2 separate regions of the Homo sapiens genome follow, and region 2 is linked to region 1. The links are contacts of gene promoters, found by promoter capture Hi-C in human tissues and cell types (Jung and others, 2019). All regions are on one chromosome and are shown on one strand. The core of a region is centred on a gene start or on the middle of the fragment in contact, and the rest is flanking DNA. Distances in the headings are between cores, read along the strand shown.

The links. The method cuts DNA at HindIII sites, captures the fragments that hold promoters and counts their contacts. A contact is called where the count stands out against the background at its distance.
Region 2: a fragment that was not itself captured here is called in contact with the fragment with the promoter of FIP1L1 in region 1 in 1 of the 25 tissues and cell types used here (IMR-90 fibroblasts).

The regions. Positions count from the first base shown.
Region 1 is chr4:53,375,320-53,379,830 of GRCh38, forward strand. It overlaps FIP1L1 (factor interacting with PAPOLA and CPSF1), which reads left to right and starts at 2,322. Exons shown (of 18, transcript NM_030917.4): 1 at 2,322-2,604; 2 at 3,754-3,798; 3 at 3,906-3,945. The coding sequence starts at 2,520. LOC105377654 (a long non-coding RNA gene) reads right to left here and starts at 2,421. Exons shown (of 3, transcript XR_007058118.1): 1 at 2,340-2,421; 2 at 278-411. RefSeq lists enhancers at 2,040-2,588, 2,390-2,479, 2,530-2,649, 2,589-3,137 and a silencer at 2,810-2,899. The HindIII fragment of the contact is 6,649 bases long and covers 1-4,511 here.
Region 2 is chr4:54,235,223-54,239,733 of GRCh38, forward strand. The region is part of intron 1 of PDGFRA (platelet derived growth factor receptor alpha); the gene reads left to right. Among named protein-coding and RNA genes, the nearest start is that of PDGFRA, 8.2 kb to the left of the region's middle. The HindIII fragment of the contact is 8,516 bases long and covers 1-4,511 here.

The sequences.
Region 1 (4,511 bases), core at 1,072-3,571:
TTATTCACTGTTGAATCTACATAGCTGGAAGAGTTCCTGGCAAAACAAATGGGAAGAGATAAAATGGGATTCAGGAAAGATTTCACAAAGGTGATTATACCCCCAGAGAGTTTAGAAGGATGCAAGAGATTATCATAAAAAGATAAGGGAGCTGGGAATAGCTGGCAGAAGTGTGTTCAAAGGTAAGAAAGATTAAAACCACATGGTTTGTTTAAATAATGTGAGATATTGGTTGGGCGTAAACCCTTCATTTGTGCTTCTATTACAACACATTCACCTCTTCTCTTGTAGGAGAGTTGTTTACTGCCCCTCTGTCTTTCTCAATAACTTCAGAGTTCTTTAAGGGGTGGGACTGTTTCACTCATGTCTTCATTTTCCAAGTTCTTAAACAGAGCAGATATTCTGTAATTGCTAAATAAATAAATGATAAAACAATATTTATTCATCAAGGAGCAAGAAAACTCATTTAGTTGTTCAATCAAAATGGATTTCTCTCTGTTGACAAGCGAATGCCCTGTTTGTAAACTTTATAAATGAAAGAGACCTCAGAGATCATCTAACTTGGCCTTTCCATTTTATAGATGAGAAAACTGAAGCATAGAAAGGTTGATTGCCTGACTATACAACCTGCTAGGTATAATGAAGAACTGAGGCCAGGCCTGGTGGCTCATACATGTAATCCCAGCACTTTAGGAGGCCTAGGTGGAAGGATTGCTAGAGACCACGAGTTCCAGACCAGCCTAGGCAACATGGTGAGACATTGTCTCTACAAAAAATAAAAAATTAGCCAGGTGTGGTGGCACCTGCTTGTCTGTAGTCCCAGGTACTCAGGAGGCTGAAGTGGGAGGACTGTTTGAGTCTGGGAGGTAGAGACTGCAGTGAACAGTGACCCTGCCACTGCATTTCAGCCTGGGTTACAGAGTAAGACTGTTTTTTAAACAAAACAAAACAAAACAAAACAAAACAAAACAAAACAAAAAAACAGGCCGGGCGTGGTGGCTCATGCCTGTAAGCCCAGCACTTTGGGACACCAAGGTGGGCAGATCACCTGAGGTCAGGAGTTCAAAACCAGCCTGGCCAAAATGGTGAAACCCCCTCTCTACTATAAATACAAAAATTGGCTGGGCATGGTGGTGCGTGCCTGTAATCCCAGCTACTTGGGAGGCTGAGGCAGAAGAATCGCTTGAGCCCAGGAGGTGGAGGTTGCAGTGAGCAGAGATCGCACCACTGTACTCCAGCTGGGCAACAGAGTGAGACTCCGCCTCAAATAAATAAACAAACAAACAAAAAACCTAGACAAACCTAGAGCTCCAGTTTGAACCATGGTATGTCATCTTTTCACTGGAAGATGTGCTTTCAGAAGCGGCCTGAACATTTGGTTTACCTATTAAAATAAAAACTGTACATACTTTATGATCTATCTTTGAGAAACAGACAAATCTGCAAGGAGCCGTGTGGATCTTCATTGTCATTTTTTGTTGTAGTTAAAAGTGTAAAGTCAAAAGCAATCTGGGTGTACATCAATGGAGAAATAGCCATATTCACTCTGTGATAGCCATACTATGCAATTTTATGAAGCACTTAAAATAGATATAGTTTGATTCATACTAAAATGAAAAAGAGCTCCAAGACACGGATGCTAAAAAAAAAGAAAAAAAAGGAAGTCGAAGGATGATACTATACTGTACTGTACTATTTAAGACTTGTCAATCTCAGGTTCTCCCACCAAAACAGCACAACACATGAAGTAAGTGTATAGGAAATTTCGGAATGATGAACTCCAAACAGGATATGCATCTGTAGCAAGGGCTACCTCCGGAGAGAAGGGTAGGGGAATGAGGCGGTCTTTGACCTTGACAGTAATTTATGGTTTTTAACAAGGAGAGTGCATTCTTCATCTATTAGTTTTGCTTTTGTTGGCTGTGAAAATTAATTTTTTGAGAAATAGTACTGATTGTGATTTCTTCTCTATTCAGTGAGGAAAGGGAGTGACAGGTAATGATTCTGTATCAAGGCTGATTAAAGAATAAAAGAAGGCCTTTCTGAAGATTAAAAAACAAATAAAAAGTTGAGAAGAAAGAGCACGAAGAGTAGAAGGGAACAATGGTGTACTCGCCAGCAATGGCAATACGGGTTATTAAAAAGAAGGGTGGGGGCGGGGAACCCTGGCCGACTCAGGACGCCACGGGAGGAAGCCACGCAAAATAGCAAACCGGGATCCTAGAGGGGCGGGGCCCACCTCAGCGCGCAGGCGCAACCAGGCCCAGGTGGCCGCCGCGGAAGCGAAGCCACCTATACGCGCCGCGCCGCTTGGGTCTCCTGCGCATGCGCAGACGGACCTGCGCTGGAGGCTTCATCTTTGCCGCCGCTGCCGTCGCCTTCCTGGGATTGGAGTCTCGAGCTTTCTTCGTTCGTTCGTCGGCGGGTTCGCGCCCTTCTCGCGCCTCGGGGCTGCGAGGCTGGGGAAGGGGTTGGAGGGGGCTGTTGATCGCCGCGTTTAAGTTGCGCTCGGGGCGGCCATGTCGGCCGGCGAGGTCGAGCGCCTAGTGTCGGAGCTGAGCGGCGGGACCGGAGGGGATGAGGAGGAAGAGTGGCTCTATGGCGGTACGAAACTTCCTGTCTCTGTCTCTCGGGTTCTCTCAGGCCTCCCCTCTTGGCCCTCAAACGGCCGGCGTCCCTGGCCTCTCGCGCCGCCGCTTCGGGCCTCTGGTTGGGAGTCCTGTCCGGCCTGACTTAGGCCGAGCGCGGCGTGCGCGTGCCCCCAGTCCCCGCGGCGGTCTCCCGCCTGGCCCACGCCCACCATGCGCATCCACCCCTGTGGCGGCCGGGCCGGGCTGGGGGGCTGTGACCGGTCCTGGCCCCCGGCTTCGCTGTGCTTTCCCCGAGGCGTCTCGATCGCCTAGCTGCTGCGCTCTTTACCCTTGTTTTTTTCTGTCGATTCTGAGGTGGTGGTTTTTGGTGTCTGTTTTTGCCCTGTGGCCTTAGGGTGCCCTTCCTGTCCCTTCTTTCAGAAACAGTCATTCTGTAATAATAGCTAAATAAAGTTAATGCTGTACAACTAACGTCTTGTTTCTTGATGGTCAGTTTGTATGGAATGCACCTGCAAGGGTACCTCCTTGTCTGAAAGTCGTGCTTTAAAAATAATTAATTAAGAGAGAGAGAGAGAAAGATGGCCCATAAAGAAAACTCTGAATGTCTCCTGTATTAAGGTGAAGTTATTCTTTTTTAAGAGACTACCGTTTAACCTACATCATGGAGGTATCTCATGACCCTTCGGCTTATAGTTTTCAGTGTCATCTCATGTATTTGTTTTTCTCAAAATAAATTTAATGCATCATGTACTTCTCTCTAGAAGGGTACTTGTTTGACATCTGGTTTTTAACTTTAAGTCACAATCCCTTCTTGCTTGTTAACACCAGATTTGAAAGTTAATGTTTGTTCCTTGCCTAAAACATATATTCTTGATTGTCTTTAGAATAGAATAGTAAAAGTGCACTTTGGGCACCATGCAGGTCCTTGATGATGTGACTTTGATAAACTTGTAAAAAAAAATCGTTTGGTGGCAAGATTTAGCATTAGTTACTACTCTTTGAAATGTGAATGTGTAGGATTTCTTTTACAAAGATCTGGAAATCTTCATTACCTCTTAAATTTAAGCTTATTTTTATAGCAGTAAAGTCTGATTTTTTTTTCCATAAAATAAGTATCTTGTTAAGTAATTATAAGGTGATCTAACTTTGGATGTGCTTATAGGCCCATGGGACGTGCATGTGCACAGTGATTTGGCAAAGGACCTAGGTTAGTGCTTGTGATGATCACTTCAGATTTTCATAATACTAGTTTCTTTAAGAGTGGTTTCTTTATTTTGTTTGCTTATTTATTTATTTGTTTATTTTACTTGGTAGATGAAAATGAAGTTGAAAGGCCAGAAGAAGAAAATGCCAGGTTAGTGAAATTTTCTGTTGATGCCTATTACACAGGTTGTGTGAAACAATGGTTCTGTCAGTTGTCAAAATTATTTTCTTACAATCATTGGCTTCATTACAACACTGACTTACAACATTTTGGAGGACATTGAATCCTTTAAGGATTATTCCAGTTTCAGGACCTAATCTTACGCCAATTCTATTTGTTGGTAGTTTAAAGGACAAAGTTTTTGAACTTAGGATTGGACTGATTTTACACTGTTAAGTAACTTGTTACTCTTAAGTGAATTCAGTAGTGAAGTATACAGTATAATCGTTAAGCTACTGATAAAAATATTTTAACTTAATTGAAAATGTTTTTAAGTAAATCAGGAACACTCCAAACTACTGCTTTTCCAGTTTATTAACATTTTTGATGATATAATGGCAGTTTGGTTGTAATTTCAATGCTATGTATTGTTTGCATTCAAAATGTAATTAGCTGATTTGTTATAAGGTTGATTTCTTTGTTAGATTGTAAGAAAGATGTAAGTGTTCATTTATAGAACATATACAGGGAGTCAGAATTTTACCCCAGATTTCAAA
Region 2 (4,511 bases), core at 717-3,216, 860 kb after region 1:
TGGCTTTTGGGGCTGTGAGAGAGTCTCCTGTGGTCTTTAATCATGTGAGGGTGGGGTGAAATTCAATATTCAGTGGTTCTGCAATGGGATGCACTGTGCAATTGGTGATTGAGAAGCCAACTCTCTGGCTTTAGGAGAAGAATGTCTTGCTGTTAGTCCTTCTGGAAATAGAGCCTTGCATTGCCTACTGTCTGTTTACACTACCTTTGCACATTGCCTTTGGTTATAGAGTCATGTCCAATGGCTCTTTACTTCTGTTTGCAGGGCAGGAGATGGCACCCTGTTAAAGAGAAAGGATAGTAGCTGCAAAGTCATTTGTTTCTCTGTTTCTGTGACTGTATATATTGGCTCATCTTTGAATGGTCTTTATAGCCACACCAGGCTGGAGGTAACAGGGTCATGGGAGTGGACTGCTGGTGTGGGCTGAATCAGAGTTCAGATCCATGTCTCCAGGAGGTAGGAGGTGCAGGGCAAGTCATGTGGCTTCTGGGGCATCCCTCACTTTCTTAGTTAAGGAGAAGTTGAAGGAGCCGATCTAAAATATCTTGGGAGTCTGCAGAAAAAGTCGTGAAAATCAAAGCACTTTCAATTAAACTATATAATTTAGTCCTTACAAGAATGCCACAGGGCAAGCAACCAGTCAGGCCTTGGTAGTCGTGCTTCCTAGAAGAAAAGACTGAGGTTCAGAGAGTTGGATAGAGTATCAGATTTGGGATCAGTGGCTAGTCCAATGTGATTTCCATCCTTTCTTCTGAGAGAAAGCATAAGAAGGCCAAGAGGATGGTGGAAAAGCACAAGTCACCTGCCTGAGAGTCAACAGGGCGGGGGGTCTCTTTCTCAGTTTGTTCCTCTAAGTTATGGCAAATGTTTTTTGAGCTGTGATTATTGAGAATGGGGGCTGAAGTTCAACATGTAGTTGGCATGAGGGAAGTAATTATGATTGAAGAAAAGATTTGGGTGAAATCTAGTGTTCTTCCCTGCAAAGGGGGTTGTTCTCACGGATTCTTATGGTGCCATGTTTCTCAGAATTTGTAGTTTCAGTTACTTATATTTGCACACCTGACTTTAGATGAGCTCCAGAATAGCAGTTACTAATTAAGGATGAGCATTTAGAGTAGATAAAAGTGGCAGGAACAGCAAGACTCACTCCCAGAGAGCCTCACTACAGGTCTAATAGGTGAGGAAATTCCCCATGTTTCCCATTTTTCTTCATTACCTCCCTGTGGGGCAAGCACTGCCATTATTCATGAGTAAACTGTCTGAGTTATAGATAAGTAATGACATGAAACTTCACAAACACGCTGAGCACAGTGGCTCACGCCTGTAATCCCAGCACTTTGGGAAGCCGACGTGGGTGAATCACGAGGTCAGGAGTTCGAGATCAGCCTGACCAACATGGTGAAACCCTGTCTGTACTAAAAATACAAGAAATTAGCTGGCCATGATGGTGGGCACCTGTAATACCAGCTACTCGGGAGGCTGAGACAGGAGAATCGCTTGAACTTGGGAGGCAGAGGTTGCAATGAGCTGAGATCATGCCACTGCACTCCAGCCCAGGCGGCAGTGCAAGACTCCATCTAAAAAAAGAAAAAGAAAGAAAGAAAAAAGAAAAAAAGAAAGTTCACAAACAGGCCTGATTTCTACCCAGGGAACCACTGTTATCAGAGATTGGGGTTTGGAATCTTAAGCAACAAACACATGTTTATTCTCTTCCTTCCTGATGGCTTGCTCAGAGGACCTGTTTCCATTGCCCACTTTTTTTTTGAGACAGAATCTTGCTCTGTCACCCAGGCTGGAGTGCAGTGGCGAGATCCTGGCTCACTGCAACCTCTGCCTACTGGGTTGAAGCCATTCTCCTGCCTCAGCCTCCCGAGTAGCTGGGATTATAGGTACCTGCCGCCATGCCTGGCTAATTTTTTGTATTTTTAGTAGAGATGGGGTTTCATCATGTCGGCCAGGATGGTCTTGAACTCCTGACCTCAAGTGATCTGCCCACCTCAGCCTTCCAAAGTGTTGGGATTACAGATGTGAGCCACCACGCCCGGCCTCATTGGCCACTTTATATGTCAGTAAATAATCTTTCCTGGCAGAGGGTCCACTGTATCTGGAGGCACTGAAGGAAATCTGGGAGTGTCTGGCCAGGGCAAAGCACTGCTTAGAGCTTGCACAGGAAAAGCAGTGAGCCCTTCTTTTAAGCTGGAGAAAGCTTTAAAGATGCATCTTTGGCAAGTCTTGCCAAAGAAATATGGGTTCTAAATGTGATAAAACCAAAGACATCAAGCTGGCTCTGGAGGCCTTGTTTGAAGTTTGCTGAGTGGATTGTCAGTGGGAGGCTGATATTTATATGTACAAACACACAAGCATTACTGCTAATTGTGGTAAATCAGGCTGGCCAGCCTGGCTCTGGGGCCCACTGTGCCTGCCACCGCAGCAGTGTGGAAGCCTTGCATCCCAGGCACATGTCAGGATCCTCGGAGGCCATCAGCCAGCCAGCATTGTGTGAATTGCATTTGGGTTCACAGCACTGTAATTGTGTTTCTCCTGCTGTGGTGAGCAAAGGAGGAAAATGGAAGGAGGAGGTATAATTTGCCCTAGGAAATAGTCAGGCAAGTAGGTGGCACACAGGGGTGGGATATGGCTAAAACACTGACCTTCCCTTGAGAGAGACCATATGGTGAAGTGGAGAGGGCATGGCGTTTGTATCACACGACCTTGTGTTCAAATCCTGGCTCTGTCACTGGCTGTGTGACTTTGGGTCATTTGCAAAACCTCTCTGAGCCTCAACTGCCACTTCTTAAAATCAGCTCTAAGTAATCACAGGGTTATTCTTCACAAACACAGCATGCACATGCAAACTTTGGCTTAGTAAATAATGGTTTCTCCTTCTCTTACTTTGTTTTCTACATACCCCACTCCCCTTCCTGTGAGGAGCCTTCCACCTTTTTCTCTGTGTTCTCTTCCTCTCCCATTTTCCTGGTAGCATTCAATAAAACAGAAATCTGATTTCTGCAAAGTAGGCCACCTTACGGTAGAAATACATGATTAGGCCCCACCAAAAACTTTGATTAGGCTATTATCTTCTGGATCCTGGATCCCCTCCAACCAAACCAAACCCAACTAGGGCTAAACACAGCAATATATGAATACATTGAATTTCTCTCTCACTCTTTCTTTTTTTTAAACCAGTTTACTCAGGAATCACATGCACACATATTTTAGCTTCCAAAGCCAATGATGGAACAAATTGTGTCCCATTAGGCTCACTCCATTGTATGAGTTAGCATCAGAGGAGTTCATACCAGAGTGACTTCATCTTGAATAGGGCCTAGGTAAGAAGAGGATGAGACCTGCTGGGCTGCATTCCCAGGAGGTTACACATTTGTAGTCACAGGAGAGAAAGGAGTTGGTATAGGAGTTGATAGATACAGGTCATAAAGACCCCAGTGATAAAACAGGTTGCAGGCCAGGTTTGGTGGCTCATTCCTGTAATCATAGTACTTTGGGAGGCCAAGGCAGGAAGATTGCTTGAGCCCAGGATTTCAAGATGAGCCTGGACAACATAGTGAGACCTTGTCTCTACAAACAATAATTTTAAAAACATGAGCTGGGCATGATGGTGCAGGCCTATAGTCCCAGCTACTGGTCTGAGGGGCAGTTGGGTGGCAGGCTGAGATGGGAGGATGGAGGCTGCGGTGAGCTGAGATCAGGCCACTGCACTCCAGCCTGGGTGATGGAATAAGACCCTGTCTCAAAAATAGATAAATAAATAAATAAATAAGCCAGCAAAACCAGAATGCAGTGAAGAAGCTGGCCAAAACCCACCAAAACGAAGATGGTGATGAAAGTGACCTCTGGTCATCCCTACTGCTTATTACACACTAATTATAATGCATTAGCATGTTAAAAGACACTCCCACCAGTGCCATGGCAGTTTACAAATGCCATAGCAATGACCAGAGATACTCTATATGGTCTAAAAAGGGGAGGAACCCTCAGTCCTGGGAATTACCTGTCCCTTTCAGGGAAAACTCATGAATCTTCTACCGCTTGTTGAGCGTATAATCAAGAAATAACTATAGGTATACTCACTCAAGCAGCCATGCAGTTGCTGTGCCCATGGAGTAGCCACTCTTTTATTCTTTTACTTTCTTAATATATTTGCTGTCATTTTACTCTTTTGGCTTGCTCTTGAATTCCTTCCTGCATGAAGCCAAGAACCTTTGTGACCTCCCAGGCTGAACCCCAATTTTGAGTTCCACCCTATGACATCTTTTCTGGTGACCAATGAAGGGACAATGGTAACCTCCCGTTGACTTTAAATTAAAACTGATTGGCACTGTTTGGGCTTCACCGGTGGGTGAGTCTCTCCTTGCCCAGATTCAACTTGCTAACATTTTTTTCTCTTCAATTTTGGCTCCTTTGTCCTTCCTAATGTTCTTCATTTTGGACAGATGGGAAAGTGGCTGTGAGGCCTCTGGCTTAGCAGCCTGATAGCAGCCTCCTGTTGTCTG